Regions from separate parts of the Homo sapiens genome. Here all the other regions are linked to region 4. The links are contacts of gene promoters, found by promoter capture Hi-C in blood cells and fetal thymus (Javierre and others, 2016). All regions are on one chromosome and are shown on one strand. Each heading gives the region's core, a stretch centred on a gene start or on the middle of the fragment in contact. The rest is flanking DNA. Distances are from core to core; before and after follow the strand shown. Region 1 overlaps RNF32-DT (RNF32 divergent transcript). Region 2 overlaps RNF32-DT (RNF32 divergent transcript). Region 3 holds the start of LMBR1 (limb development membrane protein 1). Region 4 holds the start of PAXIP1-AS2 (PAXIP1 antisense RNA 2).

The links. Contacts are between HindIII fragments. The CHiCAGO score rates a contact against its expected background, and 5 or more counts as called.
Region 1: a fragment that was not itself captured here is called in contact with the fragment with the promoter of PAXIP1-AS2 in region 4 in 1 of 17 cell types (total B cells); the score reaches 7.2 in total B cells.
Region 2: a contact is called between a fragment that was not itself captured here and the fragment with the promoter of PAXIP1-AS2 in region 4, in 1 of 17 cell types (M2 macrophages). The highest score is 7.7, in M2 macrophages.
Region 3: a contact is called between the fragment with the promoter of LMBR1 here and the fragment with the promoter of PAXIP1-AS2 in region 4, in 2 of 17 cell types (activated CD4 T cells and M2 macrophages). The highest score is 5.4, in activated CD4 T cells.

Annotation. Positions count from the first base shown.
Region 1 is chr7:156,631,048-156,637,632 of GRCh38, reverse strand. The region is part of intron 1 of RNF32-DT (RNF32 divergent transcript); the gene reads left to right. It also overlaps the pseudogene RPL26P23. Among named protein-coding and RNA genes, the nearest start is that of RNF32-DT, 6.2 kb to the left of the region's middle. The HindIII fragment of the contact is 249 bases long and covers 3,478-3,726 here.
Region 2 is chr7:156,473,830-156,480,827 of GRCh38, reverse strand. RNF32-DT (RNF32 divergent transcript) reads left to right here. Exons shown (of 4, transcript NR_026865.2): 3 at 1-163. Among named protein-coding and RNA genes, the nearest start is that of LINC00244, 63 kb to the left of the region's middle. The HindIII fragment of the contact is 1,553 bases long and covers 1,252-2,804 here.
Region 3 is chr7:156,887,851-156,894,432 of GRCh38, reverse strand. LMBR1 (limb development membrane protein 1) reads left to right here and starts at 1,250. Exons shown (of 17, transcript NM_022458.4): 1 at 1,250-1,505. The coding sequence starts at 1,440. It overlaps LOC102723795 (a long non-coding RNA gene), which reads right to left and starts at 1,035. Exons shown (of 4, transcript XR_928253.3): 1 at 770-1,035. RefSeq lists silencers at 1,029-1,608, 1,659-2,158. The HindIII fragment of the contact is 17,725 bases long and covers 1-6,582 here.
Region 4 is chr7:154,923,265-154,929,766 of GRCh38, reverse strand. It overlaps PAXIP1-AS2 (PAXIP1 antisense RNA 2), which reads right to left and starts at 1,250. Exons shown (of 8, transcript NR_024476.1): 1 at 1,000-1,250; 2 at 743-811. RefSeq lists enhancers at 620-839, 990-1,089, 1,110-1,169. The HindIII fragment of the contact is 7,419 bases long and covers 1-2,575 here.

The DNA of each region.
Region 1 (6,585 bases), core at 2,353-4,852, 1.7 Mb before region 4:
CTGTACTCCACTGTGCTTAAGAAGAAAGCTGCGGGTGGTACTCTAAGAGATCTGTTGTATAAACATTATCACAAAAAGAGTGATGATACCTGTGCTTATCCAAGGAAGAGCAGCCCAAGATGGATGGCAATAGCGGACTATTTAAGTGGAAGACATTGATATGAAGGGAAAATCTTATATTTTGCTTGTGTAGAGCGCAATTCACAGAAAGTGTTCAAATACTAGAATAGGCAGTTGGAGTCCAGCTTGTGGAAGATGGGGTTTTCTTCATGATGACACTAGAGATCATGATATTGGATACTAGTGCTGGCCCTGTATTTTTATTTATTTATTTATTTATTTATTTATTTATTTATTTATTTATTTATTTTGAGACAGAGTCTCTGTTGCCCAGGCTGGAATGCAGTGGCGCCATCTCGGCTCACTGCAACTTCTGCCTCCCAGGATCAAGTAATTCTCCTGTCTTAGCCTCCCGAATAGCTGGGATTACAGGTGCCCGTCACCACGCTTAGCTAATTTTTGTATTTTTTAGTAGAGTCGGGGTTTCGCTATGTTGGCCAGGCTGGTCTTGAACTTCTGACCTCAGGTGATCCGCCTGCCTCGGCCTCCCAAAGTGCTGGGATTACAGGCGTGAACCACCGTGCCTGGCCTATGGATTCTTAATGTATCATACCCATAATATTTGAATTTGCCCACCTGCCTAGTCTCTAAACACTGCACTAATGAAAGCCTAGGCAGGGTCAGAATGGTTCTTAGTTCAATATCCTTCTCACATTTTAGTATCTTAATGCTCTCACATTTCTCCTTTGTTATGTACAAAATATTCTCAAAGCCTACTCAGTGCCTATTTGACTCTTGTCTCTCTTAACACAGTCCTTGACATCTAAAACAAACCTAAGGAGCAGAAATTGGTGGCATGGGGTTCATCTTTAATTTAGTTCTCAATTTTAACCTTCACCAAAACCATCTCTCCATTTATTTTTCTTAATCTTCTGTATTACCTTTAACTTTCTACTCACACTTGTATATTTATTTATTTATTTATTTTTTCTTTCTTTATTATTATTCTTTAAGTTTTAGGGTACATGTGCACAATGTGCAGGTTAGTTACATATGTATACATGTGCCATGCTGGTGCGCTGCACCCACTAACACGTCATCTGGCATGAGGTATATCTCCCAATGCTATCCCTCCTCCCACACTTGTATATTTATTATCAATTTCTATTCCTAACTTGCTGATGTGGTTTGGCTGTGTCCCCACACAAATCTCACCTTGAATTGTAGTAAGTAATCCCCATGTGTCAAGGGCAGGGCCAGGTGGAGAGAATTCAATCATAGGGACAGTTTCCCCCATACTATTCTTGTGGTAGTGAATAAGTCTCACAAGATCTGATGGTTTTATACATTGGAGTGGCCCTGCGCAAGCTCTGTCTTGCCTGCTGCCATATAAGACCTGTCTTGCTTCCTGTTCCACCATGATTTTGAGCCCTCCCAGCCATGTGGAACTGTGAGTCAATTAAACCTCTTTCCTTTATAAATTATGCAGTCCCGGGTATGTCTTTATTAGCAGCATGAGAACAAACTAACACCCTTGCTTCCACCCAGATTATTTTTTCAAATAATTCTAAGTCATTGCCTATATTATGCAGTATGTGATGTCCAGCAATTGTTTGGAAATTTGCCAATCTCTCCGAGTGTTTTGTAGCAGCAGTTGCTGTAAAGACTCAGGTATACTTGTGGGAACTTACTGAAGTGTTTTTTTTTTTTTTTTCCTAGAGATTATATTATAGTTCTGTTTTGTCTTTAATAATGAAAAAGGGCTTAGGATGAGTTGTTTCCACTCCTCTGATAAAATGCATTTAAAAAAATACCTGTGGCAGACATATCATGATGACATCATTCCTGTCAACATTAAAATAGTAGTAGAGAAACACTGATGAAAACACTTCCGACACTGGAGAAGAGAGGAGAAATCTTGTTTTCATTCTTACTCTATAATTTAAAGTCACGGGTATAACAAGCGAGCCTTTAAAAACTGTTTTCCGAATTAAAAAATGGAGCAAATTCATTCTTTGTTGTTGAATTCAATATACTTAGAAGTAATTTATCACTTTGGTAAAGAATAATGTCCTACTATGCCTTAATATCTGACACGATGGAGATATTCTTGCTATCTACACTGTGATCACCAGATACCAGACACTTCAAAAATGTTGCCAAAAGCTGTTAGGCATACTGATTGTATGAAAGGTGTTTGGGTAATGTGGACTCCTTTCAGACATTTGTGATTTTTCTGCCTTAATTGAAAGTTTTGACAGGTTTGTAAAAGCATAAATGTCAGGTTATTAGTAGAAACTCTAAAATAACCTGGGAAATAAATACATATACTGGTTTCAACCACTTTGGCTAAAGCTGAATGTCTCTAAAAATTGAATCAGCTGATGCTCTAATATGTTAAATATATCAAGAGACAGGATGTTTCCTGATCACATCCAGATAATTTTTTTAATTAATAGATTTATTTTCTTAATAAATTTTACAGATAAATTGAACAAATAATACAGAGAGCTCCCTCTCCTTGCAACAGTTTCCCCTATTTGCCATTTGTATGCTATATTTGTTAAAATTGATGTACAATAAGGTTGTTCATGTTTAATGTTGACTATGAAATTCTCCGCAAATAAAAGTATACCCCACAAGTACACAGGAGAGACCCCTTCTGCAGTTCTATTCATAGAGGCACAAGCAAAGGAACTATTGAGAGATAAGAGTCTCATGATAGCAGAAAAGTATTGATCCATGATCTTGGGAAAGCTGTCCACATCTAGGATGCTGTCTGCTTTTAGGGAGAAACTTTCCTGGTTAGCTTTACCTTAAGGTCTCCAACAAGTGTATAGATTGAAGAGTCTGGAGGGGCCCATTTCAGCTGTGAGATTGTAAACCCAAGGCTCAAGGTGCTGAAGTTTTGCTGCAGTGTAAGTGGCAGGGGCAGTCTTTCCCTGATGATGTTTCCAGAAGAGTCAGTTTCTAGGCTTTAGATCATGTAGGGTTTGTCCTCAGTGGACCATGGAAAGCTTTCTTTACCTGGTGAAAATAGACTTGGGCATAATGCATTAAAGCCTGGCAGCACTTAGTCATATCAGAGCTTAGGAGGAGAAGATGTGTGAGGTTTTATTATTAGGAGCATAGGCCTTCAGTGACTATTGCATAAGGGATCAACTTAACGTTTTGCACATGGAAGTGGATCTGTCATCAATCCGCAGTACTTTAGACCAAGGAAATCCAGTCAATTCAGTTAGCTTTGCCTGATGTGATTGTACCTATGATACCTTATCTCATTGTTTTACAACTTGTCTGATGAAACAAGTACCTCTATCACTAGCAATCTTTCCAGGTATGTCCCATGAGAGAAACATGTTTCCTAATAACCTTTTGTCTACTGTTACAGCACGAGACTTTTTGAATGGAAAAGCTTCTATACAATCAGAAAACATGCATTGAAAATGGCAATGGAATGAAATCCCTCTAAAAATGTTTCAGTGGCCTATAATGTAGCAGAAATGTACATGAAGTTTTGATTGCCTTCCCAGGATTGTAGATTTGACAAACCAAACATTGGACATAAACTATTTTAGCAATTTAGAACATGCCAATATTCTATTTGGATCATCTTACCTCTTCCATGATGGGCCTTGGAGTGTAGAGCTTTTAGTAATGGAAGCTTTAAGGATTCAGGAAGGACCAGGCATCTGTCCAGGCTCCATGAGTCCATCCTTAACATTAGATTTATATCTTCCTTTTGTTTTTCATTTCAAGTTTTAAAGCTTGTATATAAGATTACTTTATTCCTGCATCTTCTCAATTGTTTCTTCCTTGTATTTGCCCTTTTCCTACTTGGCGAGATTTGGCTTTCTGTTCAAGAATCTTTTTGCGGTCTATGTCCAGTTTTAGCCTAGTGATAACCACCTTGCTGGGGTGAATGCCTACATGGACAGTTGTGCCATTAGCCTTTTCCCACTGCACCCGTTCGATGTAGAGGACATATTTCTTCCTGTAAACCTGGACTACTCTGCCAATTGGCTAACCTTTATAGTGTCCTCGTACAACCTGAACTTCATCATCCTTTTGGATGGGCATGGATCACACGTTGTACTTCTGTCTCAGCTCTTTGGAAAGAGGGGAAGACATAGTCTTCCTGTAAATGTGGGAAGGTGCATTGAAATGCCTTTTGTGGTTCTTGTTTCGGTTGGAAGTCGCAAAGGGATTGAACTTCATTTTGGCGATTGCTGCTTCAGTGATAGCTGCAAAATGGAAGATTTATGTCTTCTTAAATATCAGTTTTGTTTCTCCAATTCACGTGCATAGCACTGTTTATTAGATGGGTTATCATAGGTAAATTTGACTTGGATCATGGAATTCATCTAAACTACATATCAAAACAATTTCAGTACTGGCTGACTTAGCTTGAAGATCTGGCAGAGTAGTTCCTTGGTATTCAATTAATTTTTATCCTAATTGGATTATCAGTTTCATAAGCCAGTCAGTGTGTTCATTAGAGTGCTGGTAATTCATACCCAGTCTAAACGATATGATCCTAAAGACATCAGAAACTTCGCATTCAAGAGTGCTTGTCAGGGTCCTTTCCATCCTTTTCATGAATCTCCTTGAAGGCATGATACTCTAGGATTTTACTTGCTTATAAACTTAACATAGCAAATAATCCTGTTTCTCTGTCTTTTGGATGCTGCAGGGGCCCTCTGTAGCATCCCAAAGTTAGTTTGAGGTAACAACAAAAAAAGACAATTTGAAATTTGATTTTGGGAAGGCTGTCAAATATGTCAAAGGCTTAAAATAATCAAAATAGGATCACAAGGCATTGTAAGATAATATTCATTTAGCCAAAGTGATAAAAGGGGTTAGAAAGCAAAAACCTTTCTTCTTTGATAGAGGGGAGACTCAGTTTTCCAATCAACAGATCTGAGAAAGACAGCATGAGACAGAATCTGTCTCCTTCTCTCCTCTGTCTCTCTTTTGCAGTTTACTCAAAAGGTGAACAAAAGTCTTTTACTACCTCTTATTAATAATACTACATGAAAATTCTTGTTCAAAAGGGAAAACCAAATTTTACTTTTGCATAGTGTATTATCAACACTAAGCTAATAAAACCTTATAAACAGATCTGTCCAATTTGTCATCTTTTGACCACAGAAAATTTCCATAAACTTTTTATAATCTCTTACAATTTTTTTATTCTTTCCAACTTTATTCATTTATCTTTCTTTTTTATTCCTTCAATTTGAAACAATCTTCAGCTTCTAGACAAAATTATTTTTTTTCTCAACACACATTTTCATGCCTTTACAACTTTCCTTACCGAAAAATACTTTGCTTTTCTTTAGACACTATATACAAAATTGTTTTTTATATCTATTAGTTTCAATTACATATATTAACTACAGTTTTAACTACTAGTAACCCTAATTTCTAGTGAAAGCCTAGGAAGTAGTTTTGAACTGTTCTATATCAATAATTGTAGATGAAAACTATTTCATAACTTTTTAGATAGGTTTTCTCAAGTTTATTAATAGATGTAAATATATGTAGCTTTTCTATACCATCTAAAAATAAGATGCCAAAATATATAAACTTAAATTTATGTTTACTAATTAATGTTTCAGTATTTTAACTTACTTAGAAATGATTCAGACATTTATGCTTATTACTTAATTCAATATAGCATAACTTTAAGATTTTAAATTATGGAAAAGAACTTTGAAACAGGTACTCTCCTGCCAATGACACAGGTACTCTCCTGCTAATATTTTCCTCAGTTGTTCTGAGTCTCAAGTAGTCACATCGTATCCAGGATGGCTTTGAAGGGCAGGGCCTATTTGGGTCTTGAATTTACATACCAAATGTAGAGCTCAAGACAGAAGACACCTGTGAAGATGATGCCTGGGAGATCCAAACCCTTTCAGCATGGCTAGGAGACAAAGCTGGGCCAAGGAAGAAGGGGCTCATCTTGGGCTTGACTCTGCCTAGTAATTGGTGGTCTGGCCACTGATAACATGTCCTCAGGCCTCACTATGGCCACCTATCCAGACCCCAGAATCCAGAGGCTCAAAACCAAGAACAAAATATTACAGACAAATTAAGAAAGTATATAAAGTATTATAGAAGCAGCAGTTTTATGCCCTTAAAAACATGTAGAGATAGCATAAACCTATTTGACCAGTAGATCTAGCCAAAAATATCTGAATTATATTTAACTAACAATTCTGAAGCCATTTCTATCTTATCAACAATTTTAAAGCTAGCTTTATTTGCCAAATATTATACACATAATACATATCAACATACAGACACATGGAGAAGCAGAGCTTATAGCTTTTACAAGTAATTCTCATTTGCTGGCTTTCAAATAGTTTTTATTTCCCTATTCAGACTTAATCTTCCAATTACCTGTTTCATTGCCCTAAGCAATTGTTAGCTAGGCAGCCCTAAATTTGCATTTCTAGGGATGACTGTTAGGTGAAACAAGGTAGAAAATTTATATCTGAAAAGCTCGGAGCTGAGACTTTA
Region 2 (6,998 bases), core at 779-3,278, 1.6 Mb before region 4:
AGATGGGATACAGCCTGAAAACACGAGCAGCGAGTGTAAAATGGGTGGAAGAGGTATGGCTAAGCCTTTCGAGGTTGGCACTGGGACAGCAGTGGCACCTCCTCCTGACACATCTCTGAAGGTGAAGGCTGGGCTTCCACGGAGCATGCGGATGCCTAACGTGGTGTGTTTTCTTACTTTTTCGTGAGTGAGGTTGAATTTACTATTTTCCCTGGCCCGCGCTGTTTCATTTCTGAGGGTGCTTTTGCGACAGTGTCTGCTATGGAGCAGTCTATCAGCAAGGATGATGTGTTATCTCTCCAAAAGCTCAGATGCTTGGCATATGTCTGCACAATTTAAACATTAGTAACCAATTAGCTGCACAGAACCCATTTTTATTTTAAAAATGTCCTACCATTATTTCATTCCCTACTTTAGGAAATTTTGGAACTCCCAAATAAATAGCAGTCAGATATTTTGAATGATAGTGTCTCCGACAGGAAACTAGCCCGAGAAGTTCTTTACCCACTAAGAACATCTCTAAGTCACCCTGCAGATTCTGTTTCTATGTCTTAGAATATCTTTTCCCCTAGGGATTCTGCAGTAGCTTGTGCACCCTTATTTGGAAGAAGCACTTGCCAGAAAGTGAACCGGGTAAAGTACAACTCAATTCTCCTTCACCCTTCTTAGAACCTCATGTGTCCTGGAATGGAGCTTATTGGCTGTTACTTGGGTTTGGGATTCCCTTTTGAGCAATTCTCTATCTCTGGAAACTTTCAGAATCGCATTCCCTAGCCATCTAAACATACACACACACGCACACTCTTACACACTCATCATTGTGACACTGAAAGGGCTGAGTGTCTGACCACACGCTTCAAGTGTTCAAGATAACTATCCCCACCCCAACCTCCCCCTTCTCTCTCTCTTCCTTCTTTCCTCCCTCTGTCTTCATCTCCTTCTCTCTCTCTCCCCTCCTCTTTCTTTTTCTTGTTTCACTAGCCCAGCCATTATGCCTCTACTTGCCCAAGAGAGTGTCATTTAAAACACTGTCAGTAAGAGCTGCACGTTATTACTTAATTTGGGGGATATTGCTACATCCTTTGCTTTAAGGGAAGTGTTAACTGATGTTACAGTGCTAATGATACAGGTCTGCCTCTCCCAAAAGAATTATAGATCAATAAATTACAGGGTGAATTATAGAACAATTATAAAATAATTTACTACAGTGTTCCTTCAAGGGTTGATATAATAGATTTAATTTATAAAGCTTTGTTTTTTCCCTCTTTTCATAACTATTGAGTAAAACAACAGTAGCAGTCATGATGGCGAGTATTATATTCCAGTGAATATCCAACGATACCACCAATCAGTAATTCCATGCTTAACTTGTGGGGAACAAGCTATTCTCCATAGCAGCTGTACCACTCTGCATTCCTGCTGCACTGTGTGAGGACCTCCATTCTCCATGTCCTCACCGACACTTCTTTCCCAGTTTTTGATTATAGCATCCTAGTGGGTGTGAGGTGCTATCTTACTGTGGTTTTGATTTGCATTTTCCTAATGAGTAATGACATTGAGCATCTTTTTATTGTGAATTACATAAAATTGGAATGGAAAAATAAATAAGAACTGTAGATGCAGCATTTTTTTTTCTCTCTCTCACTTTAAATTGATTTCCCTCCCTCTCTCTGTCAACACACACACCCCTGAGATGGCAGACCTTTTGGCTAGAAGGGCTCTGTGGGGGTCGTTTAATCCACACCCTCGGCTCAGGGGGCCCAATTCAACACACATTTGTTGGGTGCTGGGCCCTGCTGGGCCCCACAGTGATGCAGAAACAAGATAGGCTCGGTTCATGCCCTCAGAATTGACAGCCTAGTGAGGAGAAAGCCCTCCAACCGGAGTCACACAGATAAGCAAGGAGGTGAGTGTGCAGCACACAGGTCAGCTGTGGACCAGGGTGGGGCACAGGCCTCTGTAGGAGCACATAGGCAGTCGCATGGCCTGCCTGGTGGGTCAGAGAGGGCTGCTCTTGGGGGTGACTCTCAGGCTCTGACACCTCCGAGACAGCTGGGGCTGGGGGTGGGGGCAGCCCTGGCAAAGGTGCCAAGGCCCGCAGCGGGCAGGGAGGACGTGGTGGGTGCTGGAGGACACAAGGATGAGCTCGGCTGGCAGCCCCGAGGCTGGCATGTGAATTGCAAGGCAAGGGGAGCCGGCAGCTGGGGAGGGTGGCTGGGATGAACGGACCTCAGGCAGCAGGAACGTCTGACCCAGGAGGCCTGCCTCGGGCTGGGCAGCACCCAGGGCTTCCTCACCTCCTGAAGTCACTGCCTCCAGGGTCAGCAGAGGCAGAGCTACCAAGCCCTGGTCCAAGGCCCTGACCTGGGGTTCCTGGGTGAGCCACTGGACTCCCTGTGCCTCAGTTTCTTTACTGGGACATGAAGAAGTAGTTTAGGACCATTATAGCCTTCCCACCCTGCCATTCGGAGAATCTCTGAGGCCGTCGTCCGAAGCGTCACTATCAAACACAACTTTGTTACCTCCTTTATCCTCACTTCCATCTCAGTCCTCCTGGCTCGTCCCTCACAGAAAAGAATTTTCTCAAGAATTCAGGCTTGGACAACATGGGATCCAAAGATGGATCTTTTCAGATCTTTTGTCCATTTTTAAAAATTGGGTTGTTTTCTTACTATTAGGTTGTTTGAGTTCCTTATGTATTTTGGGGACTAACCCTTTATCAGATGCACAGTTTTGCAATATTTTCTCCCATTCTTAAGTTGTCTCTTCACTCTGTCGATTGTTTCTTTTGCTGTATGGAAGCTTTTTAGTTTGATGCATTCCGATTTGTCTGTGTTCGCTTTTGTTGCATGTGCTTTGAGGTCATATCCAAGAAATCACTGCAGACGCCCATGCCTTGGAGTTTCCCCCTGTGTTTCCTTCCAGTAGTTTCATAGTTTTGGGTCTTACAGTTAAATCTTTAATCCATTTTAAGTAGGTTTTTCACATGGTGGGAGACAAGGATCTAGTTTTATTCTTCTGCATGTGGCTATCCAGTTTTCCCAATATCATTTTTTGAAGAGACTCTCCTCTCTCCATTGGGTGTTCTTGGCATGTTTGCTAAATATCACCTGGCTATAAACACACAGATTTATTTCTAGGCTTTCTATTCTGTTCTATTTGTCTGTGTGTCTGTTTTTGTGCTAGCACCATGCTCTTTTAATTACTATAGCTGTGTAGTATATTTTGAAGTCAGGTAATGTGATGCCTCCAGCTTTGCTCTTTTTGCTCAGGATAACGTTGGCTGTTCTTTTGTGGTTCCATATAAATTATATATTTTCTATTTCTGTGAAGAATATCGTTGATATTTTGATGGGGATTATATTGAATCTGTAGATCACTTTTGGGTCATACGGATATTTTAACAATATTATTCTTCCAATCCATGAACATGAATATCTTTTTATTTCCTTTTTAGTGTCTTTCATCAATGTTTTATAGTTTTCAGTGTAGAGATATTACACCTCCTTGGTTAAATTTATTTCTAATTATTTTATTTTTTGTAGCTATTGTAAATGGTGTTGTTTTCCTCATTGCTTTTTCCAATATTTCCCTATTAGTGTACAAAAAGGCTCCTGATGTTTGTATGTTGATTTTGTATCCTGAAACTTTACTGAATTCATTTATTAGTTCTAATAGTTTTTTGATGGAGTCTTTAGGGTTTTCCATAGATATGATCATGTTGTCTGCTAACAACAATAATTTAACTTCTTCCCTTCCAATTTGAATGTCTTTTCTTTCTTTCTCTTGCCTAATTGCTTTGGCTAGGATTTCCAGTACTACATTGAGTAGAAGTGGTGAGCGTGGACATCCTTGTCTTGTTTCTGATCTTAGAGGAAAAGCTTTGAGCTTTCCCCTGCTGAAGTTTCTTGAGAAGGAGAGTGACATACATTTCACAAAGGAAAGCAAACCCTTGTGGTCACAGACAGGGATTCTGGGCTGGGAGCCCTGTGCACTTCCCCACGGTGTTCTTGGGACCTGAGAGAGGCTGCCTGATCATGAACCTACTGCTGGACGAAGCTTTAAAAATCATACAGAAACATGGATGATGCCCCCCAAAGTTAAAAATGAGGTGGACTTATAGGTAGTTGAAGACTGCAAAGCCTCTCAATATAATTTTCTGAAGCCCTTTTTGTAATACCCATGCTAAACCTTCCTGTTGTCCGTGCTTTTCCCCATGCAGGGACGTGCTGTGGGCAGGGGTTGGAGATAGAAATGGATTGACTTTGGCTCCATGACTCGCTCACTGGGGAAGTTGTAAGCTGGTTGCTTGGAGGAGACAGAGGGCTTTGCAGAGAGAAAAACCTGGTGTGGATTTTTGGTGCTCTCAAAGCCATGTTGGATTCAAACTCATTAACCACTCTTCCCACCTCCTCTAGTGGAATCTGGCACCATGAGAGATGGACACAGAGTGGTTTCTTTTGGAGGAGAAGGAAGGTGGGATTTGGGATTCTCCTCTGCCTGAGTAGGGCATTGATGGGACCCTGAGGACACAAAGCATGGGTGTCTCCCATGTGGACCCTATAAGTTGGGGGGATGGCAGTGTGCCCACTTGCTGTCTTCAGGTCCTAGGCCACGTGCCCTTCCCTTCCTGTTCTTCCTTCTTCCCTTCTCACGGCCTCTCCTGGTCTCCATCTCTTCTTGTTGTTTTCTTTCCTTCTCTCTCATCTGCTTGTGCATTTGTGCATTCATTCCATCAGCGTTTACTGAGCACCTTGTACCAGGCAAGCATGCGAACTCTGCCCTCAAGAGCCTGCAGCCCAGGGCTCAGGACACATCAATGAGGTTGATCAGGCATGAAATAAGATCAAAATGGAGGAAGGAGCTGCTTGAGCATGGGGGGGTGGGGTGGAGGCAGGGCTGGCCCTGTTTAGGGACTTGAGGACACTCCTGGGAGGAGCTGGCTTTGGGCTGAGTCATCCAGATGAGTAGGAGTCTGCCAAGTGGACAGGCATTCCAGAAAGGCACATTGCACGTGGGAAGCAAGGGAAATGGGCCAGGCCACGTCCTGAAAGAATTAGGTTTGTTATTCCTGGGGCAGTAAGCAGCTCTGAGGTTGTCAAGCGACGGAGCTCAGTGTGGCAGGAGCATGGGGAGTGGTGGGGATGAGCCTGTGGGCCATCCATCCTGTAGACGTGGGACTGCAGTCTATGGTTGGTTTATAGCTCAAGGGAGATGCCAGACCTGTTGTACAGACTAACAGATAACTGCCAGTGACCAGCTGCCTTGGGGACATTGCTTCTGACGTTCCTTGTATGGGTTTCTTGTAACCCTCATAGCAACCCTGCACAGAGTGCATGATTGGCTCCATTATAGGAACGAGAAAGCCAAGGGTCAGAGAGGTGGAGTCAGTCATCTGAGGTTAGCACCTGGCCAGTGGGTGACGTGAGGCTGAGAAGCCTGACATGCTTCCTCCTTCATGCCAGCACCCCCCTCCGTGTGTGGTGAGCCGCAGGGATTGAGTGTGGACAGTGGTAGTAGTGTGTGGTGTGTGGCTGCATGGCTGTGGCTGGAGGATGTGGTGGACTTGAAGTGTTCATTAGCATTGGCTGCTCTCAGCCTTCTCAGTTAAACATGCACAAGCCTGCTGTCTGTCACTGATTGCCGTCTCCTCGAGCCTGTGCTGAGGTGTAGGTTCACATGGCCATGCAGACGTGGGTTGCAGAGCAGGCAGAGCTGGGTGGGATTCCAGCTCCATCATGTTCCCGCTCAATGGCTTTACCTTTTTTGCTCAGTTTCCTCATCTTTAAAGTGAAGGGAATAATAGCGTCTACCTTAAAGAGTTTTTAGATAAATCACTTAAAACATAGCAATTATGTAACAACTGCCAACAAGTACTAGTTATCATCATTGGACACTGTAAAATGTTTAGTGTCCAAACCTATAAAATAGCTCCTAAATTGAATGATCTCATGGTCTAGCTGGGAAAATAATGTGTAATTCAAAAATAAAAATAAAAATGTCAATTCTGTACAGAAATTCCCAAATGAATGTGTAGAATCTACTATCCGCACCAAGGAACGTGGAGAGATCACAACTTGGAGCCCCTGCAGAAAGTGTTTAGGGAAACAATGGGACTTGAACGGGAGCCTGGAGGCTTTAGGTAATGAGAGAGGAAGGGAGAGAATATTCTAGAAAGGAAGAATACCAGGTGAGAAGGTTTATGATGTATTTGGAAGCCACCTCCTGTGCCAGTCGGGCTGAAATACTGAGTTTGTGTGGAAGAATATGGGGTGAACCATGGAGAAAACTGATGAAATAAGATGGTGGGTCAGCATCATCCCAGAAGCCAACTACTGCTTGGAGAAGAGTTAACTCAGTGGCTGTCTGTACGATGAACTGAAGTCAAGAAGAAATTAGAAGCAAGGATGAAACAAGCGAAGTAAACCCTTCTATGTTTAACCACAACTTTGTAAACGCAGTGACTCATCTCCATTCATGGGTGTCAGCTTGGTTCTGAGCATGCAGATGAATGTATCCAACCAGGGCTGAGGAAGCCGGGTTGACCCTGAGCTTTGGCCTTTTAGTTCCGTTCCTTTGCAGGCAGATACAACTAGGAAACGAGGCCCATATTTTGAGAAGTAAAAATATTCTACTCTGAGATCTTTGCAGTTTTATTTCCCTAATTATTTTGGATAATCAACATTTTCATTTTTTTTTTCCAATTTTCAAATCAACTTTAGATTTAGCCCCTTAAATATATCTTTTAGGAAGTAGCATCTTGTTGCCTTAGGAACAGTGTTTGAAAAAGTTCTCATTTGTGCTGTACACTTCAATGATAAAGAAAGTTCACTGGCATCCCCCTGTGGAAAATGCTTTTATCATTTAAAAAAACATATGCACATAGAAAGAGTTAGTAGAAGTCACTATGTTGTAAGAGCCCAGGGTTGGTATTAGCAGAACTTAATGTATTCTCTCTCAAAATAAGATCATTGTTGGAAAAACTATAAATAATTTTC
Region 3 (6,582 bases), core at 1-2,500, 2.0 Mb before region 4:
AGATTCATAAAAATCTAAACAACGGCCGGGCGCGGTGGCTCAGGCCTGTAATCCCAGCACTTTGGGAGGACGAGGTGGGCGGATCACCTGAGGTCAGGAGTTCAAGAACAGCTTGGCCAACGTGGTGAAACCCCGTCTCTACTAAAAATACAAAAATTAGCTGGGCGTGGTGGCGGGCGCCTGTAATCCCAGCTACTCGGGAGGCTGAGGCAGGAGAATCACTTGAACCCAAGAGGCAGAGGTTGTTGTGAGCAGAGATCGCCATTGCACTCCAGCCTGGGCGACAAGAGTGAAACTCTGTCTCAAAAAAAAAAAAAACAAAAACAAAAACTAAATGACATTTGAAAGCAATTTGTAGATTTTCACACTTCCTAAGAATTCTCAAAGATGCCAAAAACAAAAATCGCAGCCACTAGCAATTTAAATGACTTCCTCGTAGCCAAATAAATCCTAAGGTAAAATTATAAACATTCCCTTAAATTCAAATTTTATAACAAAAAGAAAGATAATAGGGAACGGAGGGTGAATTATTGTGTTTGATATATTTGGCGGTGAAAAATACATATATTACGTGCTGTTTAGGGTCCACTGAGAGTCATAAAACTGACCCTAGTGACCGAGCTACCGGAAGGACTTGGCAAGGGTCTAGCGAGCTCGGTTATCTGCGTTTTCCAGGTGGGGCAGCCCAAGACCCTTCTCAGACCCAGAGAAGCTGGGTTTCCGCCCAAAGCCCGGCCCCAAACCACCGATTTCCGACCTTTCAACCTACTTTGGCAGAGCAAGAGTTTCCGCGGGAGACTCCCTGCTTCCCTCTGCCCAGGTCCCCTGAGGCCGAGTGCGGTACTGAGTGCTGAGTAAGGGGTGCCGAGTGCCAAGCACTGAGTAACTGGGGGAGGGGAACCATGCAGCTGTCATAAATAATTAGCTCCTGTGAGGAACAGGAACTCCGAGACTGCGGCCGGGCCAGGTGGGCAGAGGTCGCAGCGCCCTCGCCGCGTTCCCCGTCCCCATCCGACGCCAGGACAGCGCCTCCTTAACTGGGGTAGCCCCTGAGAGCGTGGGCGGAGCCCCGCCCCGCGACCTCAAGGCCCCGCCCCCTCAGCGCCTCCCGGCCCAGCAGCTCGGAAGACCGCGAGGCGCGCTTTTCTGACGCATCGGCGCCTTTCGTCTGACGTATGCCTGCACCGCCCCCTCCCCTCCCTGCCCCGCCCCCGCCCCGCCCCCGACTGCGCGGCGCCCGCCCTCCCTTAGTCAGAGCTGCTCGTCTGAGGCTGCTGAGGCGACGGCCGGTGTCGTGGTCGCGGTACCTGTTCCAACACGGCTCGCGGGCCCGTGCCGGCTCCGGTCCCCGGCGCGGCTGTCCGAGCCCCTGCGGCGGGCGGACGATGGTGTGGCGGAGCACGCGGACGCGGGCGGCGCGGCGGCGGGCATGAAGGAGGATGGAAGGGCAGGACGAGGTGTCGGCGCGGGAGCAGCACTTCCACAGCCAAGTGCGGGAGTCCACGGTGCGTGGGGACCGAGGCAGCCCTGACAGTCCCGCGTGCCCGCCCGGGCCCTCCGTCCCCGCCCCCGGGCCCCCGGTCCCCGGACCCCTCACCTCCGGGCCTCGCCTCGCGCCTCCCGCCCCGGCCTCTGCCGCTCTCCCTCCCCACCCCTCCTCTCCCCTCCCCTCCCCTTCCCTCCCCACCTCTCCTCTCCCCTCCCCTCCCCTTCGCTTCCTCTGCCTGCCCCCCCGCTCCGCTCTTGCCTCCCCTGCCCCCTCGCGCTCCCTCCGTTCGAGCCCCGACCCCGCCCCCGCCCCGCGGCCTCGGTGCTGCCCTTCCCTTCCCGCGGGGAGGGCTGCGGTGCGCGCCGCGCTCTGGGACCCCAGGGGCTTCCTCTCTGGGCGGGTGTGCGGCTCGCGCCTCGGGGTGTGGACGGCGGCCCCGCCAGTGCGCGCCCCCGCGCTCCGCCGCCAGGCCAGGTAGGCAGGTGGATGCGCAGGCGTCCCGGAGAGCCTGGGTGGGCCCGGCGGGTCCGGGAAGGGCCGGGCTGCGCGGAGCCCGCCCGCCTCTCGCGTTTGGACCCGGCCGGTTACCTTGTCCCGGTCAACACCTCCTGCCCTCCTGGCGCCTCACGTTTCCATCCCTCTTTCATCTCCCCCAGCCCCCACGTGGGTTGAGTTCGAAACCTTACCGTTTGGGATGAGAATATTGGTTATTTTTGGGAGTGAGGACCTCAGCAAAAGTCCATTTTGCTATGGAAGCAACTTCTTAGGGAAGCAGCTTCTTTTTTGGCCCATGTTCCATGTGTGCTGTTGGCAGGAGTCAGGAAGCGGACTTGACCTTGGAAAGTCTACTTTGATGTTTTTATCTTTTCATGATGCTCTAGAATGTATTGTAATTGGGTTTATCTGTGTTTTCATAACTGTTGTAAAATATGTCAATTTTTTATGTTTATATTTACGCCTCTCCTAAGTTGTCTACGATTCAGTCACACTTGGTTTGAGGTGAAAAAATTCTGCTTTAGAATTATCTAATTTGTGTACTCACTGATCTTGAAAATTGAGAATCACTTTGGAAGTCATACTTTGAATAAAGAGGACATATAAAGTCTGAGCTGGTGGAATTTGAGTTAGTGGAATTTGGTACACATTTAGTTGTAATTTTTATAATTGAAGCTAAAATACACAGAGATAAGTTCATGTAATCATACATGTACCCTTCAGATCATTTCATACTAAACACGCCTGTGTACTCCTGAATCCACCAGGAGTTTGAGACTGGTCAGCCTGGGCAACATAGTGAATCCCCATCTCTACCATTATAAAAAAATAAATAAATAAACACAATTTTACTAGGATCCCAGAGACTGATTCCTTTCCCTCTTCCAATTACTTTCTCCTCCACCAAGGGTAAACGTTGCCCTGGCTTCTAATATCATAGATTAGTTTTTGCTTAGTTTTGAACTTTATGTAAATGGAATCTTACCGTATATACTCTTCTGTGTCCAGTTTCTTGTACAATGTTTGTGAAATTTCTCCATGTTGTATGTGGTTATAATTCATTCTCGGTGCAGTAGTTGTGTGACTATAGCACAATTTATTTTTCATTTTACTGTTGATGGGCACTTCAGTAGTTTCTAGGTTTTGGCTATGAATATATATATGTGTATATATATGTGTATGTATATATGTGTGTGTGTGTGTGTGTGTGTGTGTATATATATATATATATATATATTTTTTTTTTTTTTTTTTTTTTGTGATGGAGTCTCGCTCTGTCTCCCAGGCTGGAGTGCAGTGGCACAATCTCGGCTCACTGCAACCTCTGCCTCCGGGATTCAAGTGATTCTCCTACCTCAGCCTCCTGAATAGCTGGGATTACAGGCACACACCACCACACCCAGCTAATTTTTCTATTTTTATTAGAGACGGGGTTTCTCCATGCTGGCCAGGCTGGCCTTGAACTCCTGACCTCAGGTGATCCACCTGCCTTGGCCTCCCAAAGTGCTGGGATTACAGGCATGAGCCACCACGCCGGGCTGGCTATGAACTTTTTGTACATAGCTTTTGGTGGACATGTTTGTGCATTTCTGTTGGGGATAGCCCTAGGAATGGAATCCCTAGGTTAAAGAGTGTGCATTTGTTCATCTTTAGTAGATACTTTAAAACAATTTTCCAAAGTGGTTGTACCAGTGTACACTTCCGCCAGTACTGACAGTCTCAGAGGTGTGGTTGTTACTCATCTTTATCAATACTTGATATTTTCTGTCCTTTTTAATTTTAGTCATTCTAGCAAGTGTGTTATAGTGTTCATCATACAAATAATTTTAATTTGCATTTTCCTGATAACTAATGAATTTGAGCACCTGTTTGTTTATTAGCCATTTGGAAATCTTGTGAAGGGTCAAATTTTTTTCCCCATTTAAAAATTAAGTTTATCTTTTTAATATTGATTTGCAAGGTCTTTACAGAATAACTTGTATTATATTGTTATACAGGTGGATATGATTTCTTTGTCAGAAATATATACTGCACATATTTCTTTCCCACTCTGTGGATGCCTTTCACTTTTAATGATATCTTCTGATGAACAGAAATTATTAATTTTAATATAGTTCAATTTATTAAAATTTTTTTGAGTACTTTTAATGTCCCGATTAAGAAATCTCTCCTTACTCTAAGACTGATGTTCTCTTCTTCTTTTCTCTAAATGCTTTATTGAATTACTCTTCTCATTTAAATTTGCAATCTATTTCGAATTTATTTTTTTGTGTCTGGTGCAAGGTAGGAGTCATATTTTTTTCTCCCACAGGAATGTCCAATTGCTTCAGCACTATTTAGGACTTTTGTCACAGATAGGTAACTGTATATTCATAGGGTTTAATTTTGGACTTTATGTGGTTTTATTGGTCTATTTGTCTTTAGTTTTATTATTTTTTAAAATTTGAGACAGGTTCTCCCTCTGTTGACCAGGCTGTCGTGCAGTGGCGCAATCATGGCTCACTGCAGCCTTGACTTCCAAGGCTCAGGCGATCCTCCCACCTCAGCTTCCCAAGTAGCTGGGACTACAGGCTTGAATCATACAGGTGTGCACTAACAGACCCAGCTAATCTTTTAATTTTTTGTAGAGGTGAGGTCTCACCGTGTTGCCCAGACCTGTCTCCTGGGCTCAAGTGATCCTCCTGCTCTTTGGCTTTACTTTTAATTAATTAGATATTCTAGAATTTGGGTTGAGAAAGGGACACATTGTAAAACAGTCCAGAGCTTCGTCTACTCCCCTGAAAACGGTTTTGGTACCGATTATGGAGTTCTTTAGTTCTGACTCTCCTCACCTGTTTCCCTCAACCCAGTACCCCTGGCTGGTTGAGTCTACTCCATCTTCTACAGAACCAGCGCAGACAGTGACCAGGCTCAGGGTTCCCAGTCTTTGGCATTTCTTTCTCAAATGATTTATATTTAGAGTGAATGTAAATACTTTTTCTCTAAGACCTGTTGCCAATTTTTAAAATTATTCAATTCTTTCTGATTTTGCTACATAATGCTATAATTGCTTAACTTTTTTATCATAATAAGATATATATATATAACATGCAATTTACCATATCTAAATATACAGTTCAGTGGCGTTAAATACATTCACATTGTTGTGCAACCACCACCACTATCCATTTCCAGATCTTTTTCATCAACTGAAACTTGATACCCATGAAACAGTAACTCTCCATTCTTCACTCTCTCCAGCTGCTGGTTCTGCCTATATGAATCTGACTATTCCCAGTTGAACCATACAATATTTGTCCTTTTCTATCTGGCTTATTTCACTTAGCATAATGCCTTCAAAGTTCACCTGTGTTGTAGCATGTGTCAAAATTTCTTTTTCTTTCTTTTTTTTTTTTGAGACAGAGTCTTTCTCTGTTGCCCAGGCTAGAGTGCAGTGGCGTGATCTCGGCTCATTGCAACCTCTCCCTCCCTGGTTCAAGCAATTCTCCTGCCTCAGCCTCCCGAGTAGCTGGGATTACAGGCATGCGCCACCGCACTTGGCTAATTTTTGTATTTTTAGTAGAGATGGGTTTCACCATGTTGGCCAGGCTGGTCTTGAACTCCTGACCCCAGGTGATCCACCTGCCTCAGCCTCCCAAAGTGCTGGGATTACAGGTGTGAGCCACTGTGCCTGGCCTCATTTTTTAATTTTTTGTAGAGATGGGGTTTTTGCTATGTTGCCCAGGCTGTTCTTGAACTCCTGGCCTCAAGTGATGCACCCACCCTGGCCTCCCAAAGTGCTGGGATTACAGGCGGGAGCCAACGTGCCTGGCCCAGAATTTGTTCAGGCTGAATAATATTTTCTTTTTGTGTATACTGTATTTTGCTTACCCATTCATTCATCAATTGACCTGAGTTGTTTCTGTTTTTGGCTATTGTGAATAATGCTGCTGTGATCATGGGTATGCAAATATCTATTAGAGTCCCTGCTTTCAATTCAGAAGTAGAATTGCTGGATCATATGATAATTCTATGTTTAATTTTTTTTTTTTTTTTTTTTGAGACAGAGTCTCGCTGTGTTTCCCAGGCTGGAGTGCAGTGACTCAATCTCGGCTCACTGCAAGCTCCGCCCCCCCGGTTCATGCCATTCTCCTGCCTCAGCCTCCCGAGTAGCTGGGACTACAGGCACCCGCCACCACGCCCAGCTAACTTTTTGTATTTTTAGTAGAGACGGGGTTTCACCATGTTAGCCAGGAAGGTCTTGATCTCCTGACCTCGTGATTCGCCCGCCTCAGCCTCCCAAAGTGCTGGGATTACAGGCGTGAGCCACCACGCCCGGCCTCTATGTTTAATTTTTTTGAGGAACTGCCATACCATTTTCCACAGAGGCTGTACCATTTTATATTCCCACTAGCAAGGAGCCAGAGTTTCTGGTTCTTCCGCATCTTCACCAACACACATTGTTTTCTGTTTTTCTTCTTTTTTTTAAAATGGATGTGAAATGGTATCTGATGCTGGATTTGATTTGCATTTCCCTAATTATAAGTGAAGTTCAGCATTGTTTCATGTGCTTATTGACTATATGGACATCTTCTTTGGAGAAATATCTGTTCTTTGCC
Region 4 (6,502 bases), core at 1-2,500:
TTCTGTCTATATTATTCCTGCCTGGATGACATAGTGAGGTCTTCACTGCTGGAGAAGGGAGGGCTGGTGGGCCAGAGGGGAGACCCTGCAGAGGTGTGCAGTGTCCTTCTCTGCTGTTCATCTCAACCCGCTGTGTTAGGAAACCAGGAGGAAGCCCTACCTGGAATGAAACAGGTGCCTAGAATGAAGAGGGTAAGGACAAGGTTTAAGACTGTGACACCTGTTGCTTAAGAGACGCATTTAGGAGTGTGGCATGTAGATCCCAAATGTCCGTTTTGTAAAAGTTGTTGTTATTGTTTCACTTTTGTTGTTGTTGTTTGTTTGTTTTGAGATAGAGTCTCACTCTGTTGCCCAGGCTGGAGTGCAGTGGTGCAATCACAGCTCCCTGCAGCCTCAACCACCTGGCTCAAGCACTCCTCCCACCTCAGTCTCCCGAGTAGGCGGGGCCACATGTGTGCACTGCCATTCCTGGCTAAGTTTTCTTTTAATTCTTTGTAGAGACAGGGTTTCCCTATGTTGCCCAGGCTGGTCTTGAACTCCTGGCTTCAAGCAATCCTCACACTTCAGCCTCCTAAAGTGCTGGGATTACAGGCGTAAGCCACCACGCCCAGCCTGTTGTTATTGCTTTGAAGGAGTTCAGGAAATGCCACCCCCATGGCACTTGGGAGTGCTGATCCCTGTGAGCTGAGGGCACTTGGGAATCAGCGGATGCAGGCAGAGGTTTCCTCTGAGCTCCCCTTACCTGCCTGAAGACGGATCCTCCAAAAGGAACTCAGCTGTCATGAATCGCCTCCCCAGGAATCTCGTCAATCTGGGAGGATTAACACAGATCACAGGAGAGGACACTGGAGGTGACATCAGCCCAGATGACTATCACCCGTTCTCCCGAAGGCGGCTCTGAGATGTTTACGACCTCAGAGACATTTCATCCACAGAGCAGCACAACCTTTACTCACCAGACAGTCCCTCCCCAGGCTCTCCCATCACTTGTGTTCTCACCTCCCCTGGAAGCCCCGGGAACTTCGAAGTAGGCTTCTGTGGACTCCTGCCACTTCATCAGTAGCTGGGGCCCTGGTACCAGCACAAACTGCTTGCATCCAACTGACTTCACCAGACATACGGGCGTCTTTGGTAAGACCGCTCTCAGGTTTTGAATCTCCCAGGTTTGGGCTGAGATTCAGATTTTATTTAAGTAAATGAATTTCATGCTCAGTGGGACTGATATTGAAGCCGCCATTTAGGGCTTTAAGGCAGGAGTTTCGCGTCATTTCTCTAAAGATTCTGCTATTGGCAGGTTTGTGGTTTCACTTTTCTATTAGGTTAAGTTTTCGTTCGTCTTACTTGCTCTTTTGTAACCTTTTCTCTCATTGGACATTTTACTTGCTCAAGTTTGTAACCTTTTCTCTCATTGGACATTTTTTTACTTGCTCAAGTTTGTAACCTTTTCTCTCATTTGACATTTGGTTAAAGAGAAAGCAGTTTTCTTTGTAAAAGGAGAAAGTGAATGTTTGTGGCTTAAGCCAAATTTGTGGCTTTAAACCAGCCAGGCTTTGGATCTTGGTTAACATTGAGATTTAAAGTTTCTTCCTGAGTCACCCAAAATTTGTAAAAGGTTGGAATGAGGACGTGATAAGCTGAAGACAAAAAGGACTCTTTCTCCCAGCTGAAAGGCACCTTAGGCAATGGAGGTAACACAAGGGTGTGGAAGCTCACAACAAACCCCAGAGAAGAACTCACAGGGAGAGCTGCTTAACCCCCGGGGCACACAACACACAAGGGGTTCGTCACCCAGTGCCTTGAACTCCCAGAAATGTCTGGGTTTCTCTGAGGTAGGTAAGAGGGAAGAAGCTACTTGTAGGTGATACCTCCAGGAATAATCCCTACTAAGCAGCACACTGGACCCCAAACACTTTTCCCTTTTAGCCTTTGGGCATTTTAAAAGAGAATCCAAATTATGAGCAATTATCCATCTATAACCAAGCCCTCATTAAGCAATGCACCTTTGGAAACTCCAGCGGGGTTTATGTACAAGACTTATGGCGCCACCTCCTGTCGATAGTTGGAGAAATGGTCTTATTTGACCTAAGAAGATCCTAAATTACAATGATCAAAGAGAATTATCTTTGAAATAGCTAGATTAGTTTATTTATATGCACAATTTTAAAAAGCCAGCTATGGAATCAAATAAAATAATTAAGAGAGTTACTTCCAATGGCACCCAGAAGCATCCAAAAGAGGTTTTGACAGAATTCTTCCCTTAGAGGAAGAAAATAAAAAGCACTCTAAAACCATTACTGAATTTTAAAAAACACTGAAATGTCTTCTTCTCTCCCTGCTCCCCTGTCTCTCTAAGCCTCCTTGTCAGAACTACCCAGCCCTGATTGACCTTCTCCTCCTCCTCCTCCTGCCCCTCCTCCTGCTCCCACTGGTTTGGCTCCATTTCATCCAGCATCTGGTAGAGGGGAACCTGCTTTATCAATCATGATCAAACTTACAGGCATAGTTAAAAGAATTCCTTGATCTTCACCAGGTTCCTATTGGTTTTGCTAGGAAATTTGAATTAAATATCCAAGCTTATGACCCTAGTTATTCTGACTTCTAGCAACAGATTCACATGTTAGTAGCAAAAATTAAAGCTAAAGGCTGGCTAGACAAAGCTCACTGGAGAAATCTGTTAGGGATCTTCATAAATGTTCAGAAGAGGACCATAGACAGGCTTGAAGAACAGCAAAGGCTTTGCATCAGGCTATCTCCTCAGTTTTTCAGAGTAGTCAACTGGAACAAAATACAATATCAACAAAATTCAGATGAGTCAGTAATATACTTTGAGGGCTGTGGAAAAAATTTTAAAGAATATTTAGTTTTATCCGAAGAAAGCTGTGCTAATCATCGAAATGATACTCGACTCCAGTTTAACAAATGAGTTAGATGAATTGGAACTAACAATGAAAAGACAAAGTTGGGCCACTTCTGATACTCATGATTTGGTCAGTCTCATTGACCGGTTATCTGATACCTTAACTGAAGAAGAAAGAGAGAGGGAAGCCAAACAAAAGAGCGAGGCTAATACAATTATGAATTTACAATTAAAACAACTATTCACACAATTTTGGCCTTCACAATACCCCTAGAAACTCCCTAATGGACCTAACCTTCCACTTTGCAATTTTTGCAAAAAGCATGATTACTTTCAAAAGAGTTGCCAAAAATGAAAAAGGAAAGAATGTTAACCAGTGGAGGCAGAAAAGAAAACAGGGGTGCTCCAAGGAACTTAAAGGGGCCTTTCATTTCCTCCTTACTAACACTGGGAGAAATAAAAATTATTATAAATGGAGAACTAACACAAGCACTTATTGACACTGGAGCCACATTATCTGGAATTAATCCCATCTTGGTACAAGGTCCCATTCCTTGCAGTAAACAAAGAATTCAAATGGTGGGCATCACAATCCTCCTGTATTGGCATACCAATCTCAGCCTGTAACCTTTCAACAGTGTTCGTTACAAGGAACTCATGCCCTCCTCTTTGTTCCATCAGACCCCATCCATTCAACAGGAAGAAACTGCTTAGAATTATGTGATACCCACATTTCTTTCTCTCAAAGGAAGGAAATATATTTAAAATTAGATTATAAAACTCAACTTTGAGACACAACAGATATTTTAATAAAATTTTCAAAATCTAATCCAATTGCAATCCATATTGCCATGAAAGACAATGAATTATTGCTTAATGAAGAATTACAAAATGTACTAAAGACAGTACTTGATCCATTGTGGTCAGTGTCCTCCATTGATATAGAAACTATCATCTCAGCTACTCCAATAAATATTTAAATATACCCATGGAAACATCTTCAAAATACAAGACAATACCCCTTGAGAACTAAAGCTCTAGGAGGGATAAAGCTTATAATGTCAGATTATATAGAAAGATGACTGTTCATTCCTTGTACAAGCCATTGTAATACCCCAATCCTCCTGGTAAGAAAACCAAATGTTAGAGAATGGAGGTTTGTACAAGACTTGAGAGCAATAAACAACATGGCAATCCCATGGCACCCTATACTGCACAAGCCTATGTTACTCACAGCCATTCCTTCTAATGTGGAATTCCTTACAGTCATAGACTTATGTAGTACATTCTTTAGCATTCTTGTAGACAAAAATAGCCAATTTCTCTTTGCCTTCACTTGGGAAAACAGACAATACACTGGGTCACACAGGCCTCCAAGGATATGCTGAAAGCCTGACTTACTTTTCAAAAATATTAAAAATAGGCCTCTCAGATGTTAATTTCCTGGAAATGCATACATTAATCCAGTAAATAAATGACTTCCATCTTGGAGAGCAAACAAGATGTTCTGTGAATGATGGGCTACATTTATTACAAAAGGCAGCCCTAAGAAAACAAAGTCTCTAAAGAGAAACTTCAATTTTGTCGAAGACAAGTGATATACTTAGGCCACCTAATATCCAAGGAAGGATGTTTTATTAATTCAGACAGACTAGAAAGGATCTCAGCTTTTTACAACCAAGAATGAAGAGATGGTTGAGTGGGATTTTAGGACTGGCAGGATATTGTAGAAATTGGATTCCAAATTTTTATTTAAAAGCCCAATCCTTATATGCCCTCCTTTTTGTTTTTAAGACAGAGTCTCACTTGGCTAATTTTTGTATTTTTACTTGAGACGGGGTTTCACCATGTTGGCCAGGCTAGTCTTGAACTCCCGACCTTCATTGATCCACCCATCTTGGCCTCCCAAAGTCCTGGGATTACAGGCATGAGCCACTGCGCCCACCTTCCTTATATGCCCTCTTAATAGAGAACTTTAAACCCTCTAGACTGGATAAAAGAAAGTCAACTAACATTAGAAATGACTAAGAATGGTCTTGCCAATGCCTCTTCTTTGGGGCATGTAAATTATAACCTCACATTTTCATTGTTTGTACATGAAAATGATGGAAATGCTTTAGATAATCTGACTCAGAAACATGAAGGCTGAAATAGACCTGTAGGGCATTACAGCCAACAGTTAGGCCCGGTAGCCAAAGGATTGCCTCTTTGCATGAGAGATATAACAGCAACCACCTTGTTCATTAAGATGACCCAAGGAACTGTGGTGGGAACTCCCCTTACTGTTTTTATCCCTCATTCTGTGGAAGCATCACTAAACTCACACCACACTGGACATTATTCAATTAGTAGACGAGCTTCACATGAGTTTTACTTCTTTCAGCTTCTCCTATCACCATCTCCAGGTGTAACCTAAATCCTGACACTCTTCTGCCTTCATTTTCAGATGAAACACTGCATAATCACATAGCCCCAGTTGATTGGCTCCTCTTTCCTAGGACTGACTTGCAAGAGACTCCACTGATTAATGCTGATGTTGTTTGAGTTACAGGCAGCTCTTATTTAAAGGATGGATCAGGGACTTACCGAGCAGGTTACACAACAGTATCTTCAACTGAAGAAATAGAAAGGCTTACCTTCCAGAAGCCACCTCACATCAACAAGCAGAATTGCATTGATCAGGGTTTGTCAGTTGGCGAAAGGAATAATTGTTGATAATATTCATTACTAATATTCAGTAAATATGCTTTCAGAGTAGCTCATGATTTTGGAATGCTATGGAAACAGAGGATTTTTCACCTCTTCTGGTCAATCCATAAAAAATGGACACCTCATTTCACAATTGTTGGGAGCCATATTATTACCAAAGTCACTGGCCATAATTAAAATTCCAGGCCATTCTAAATCAAACACTCCAGAAAGCAAAGGAAATCAGCTAGCTAATAAGGTAGTAAAAAGAGCTACTGTAAATGTATCTAAACAAGAAAAATAATCTACAGTAATCTTAAAAGAAACACCTGCATTTGTATAAAATTACCTCAATCTGGGCTCCAAAACCAGAACATAAAAGTTGGAAAGCAAAGAGGGGGAACATACTCCCCCAAAGACGAGGTATGATATGGATCAAACAACATGCTTCTACTTCATGCTGAATTTTTGTTATCATTTCTAACTTATGCACATGACATAACTCCCCAGAGCCTGACAGAGTGATTGCTTGAGGGAAACGATATTTTGGAAACCTTCTCTGACTGTAGCACACAGGATGTACAGTTGTTACCTTTGCCCCCAAAATAATCCAGGGAGGCCTCTGTCAAAGTATGGCAATTACATTCCGTCCAGTTGCCGCTCTCACAAATATACACATATATTTTGGTAATGATTGGCATGTTTTCTCATTGGGTGCAGGTGTTTCTATGTAGAAGAGCAATGACCTTAGGGTGAGTACAATTCTCTTAGAAAACATTATTGCAGCCTGGGGAGTTCCTCTGGAGCTTCATAATGACAGAGACACTGGGATCACTGGATAAGTCATCCAACCAGTACGTTAAATTTGGCCCATTCTCCAGTATTTCCATTGTGTTGACCACCCCCAGTCATCTGGGTTAGTGGACCACACAAACAGAATAATCAAAGCTCAACTGG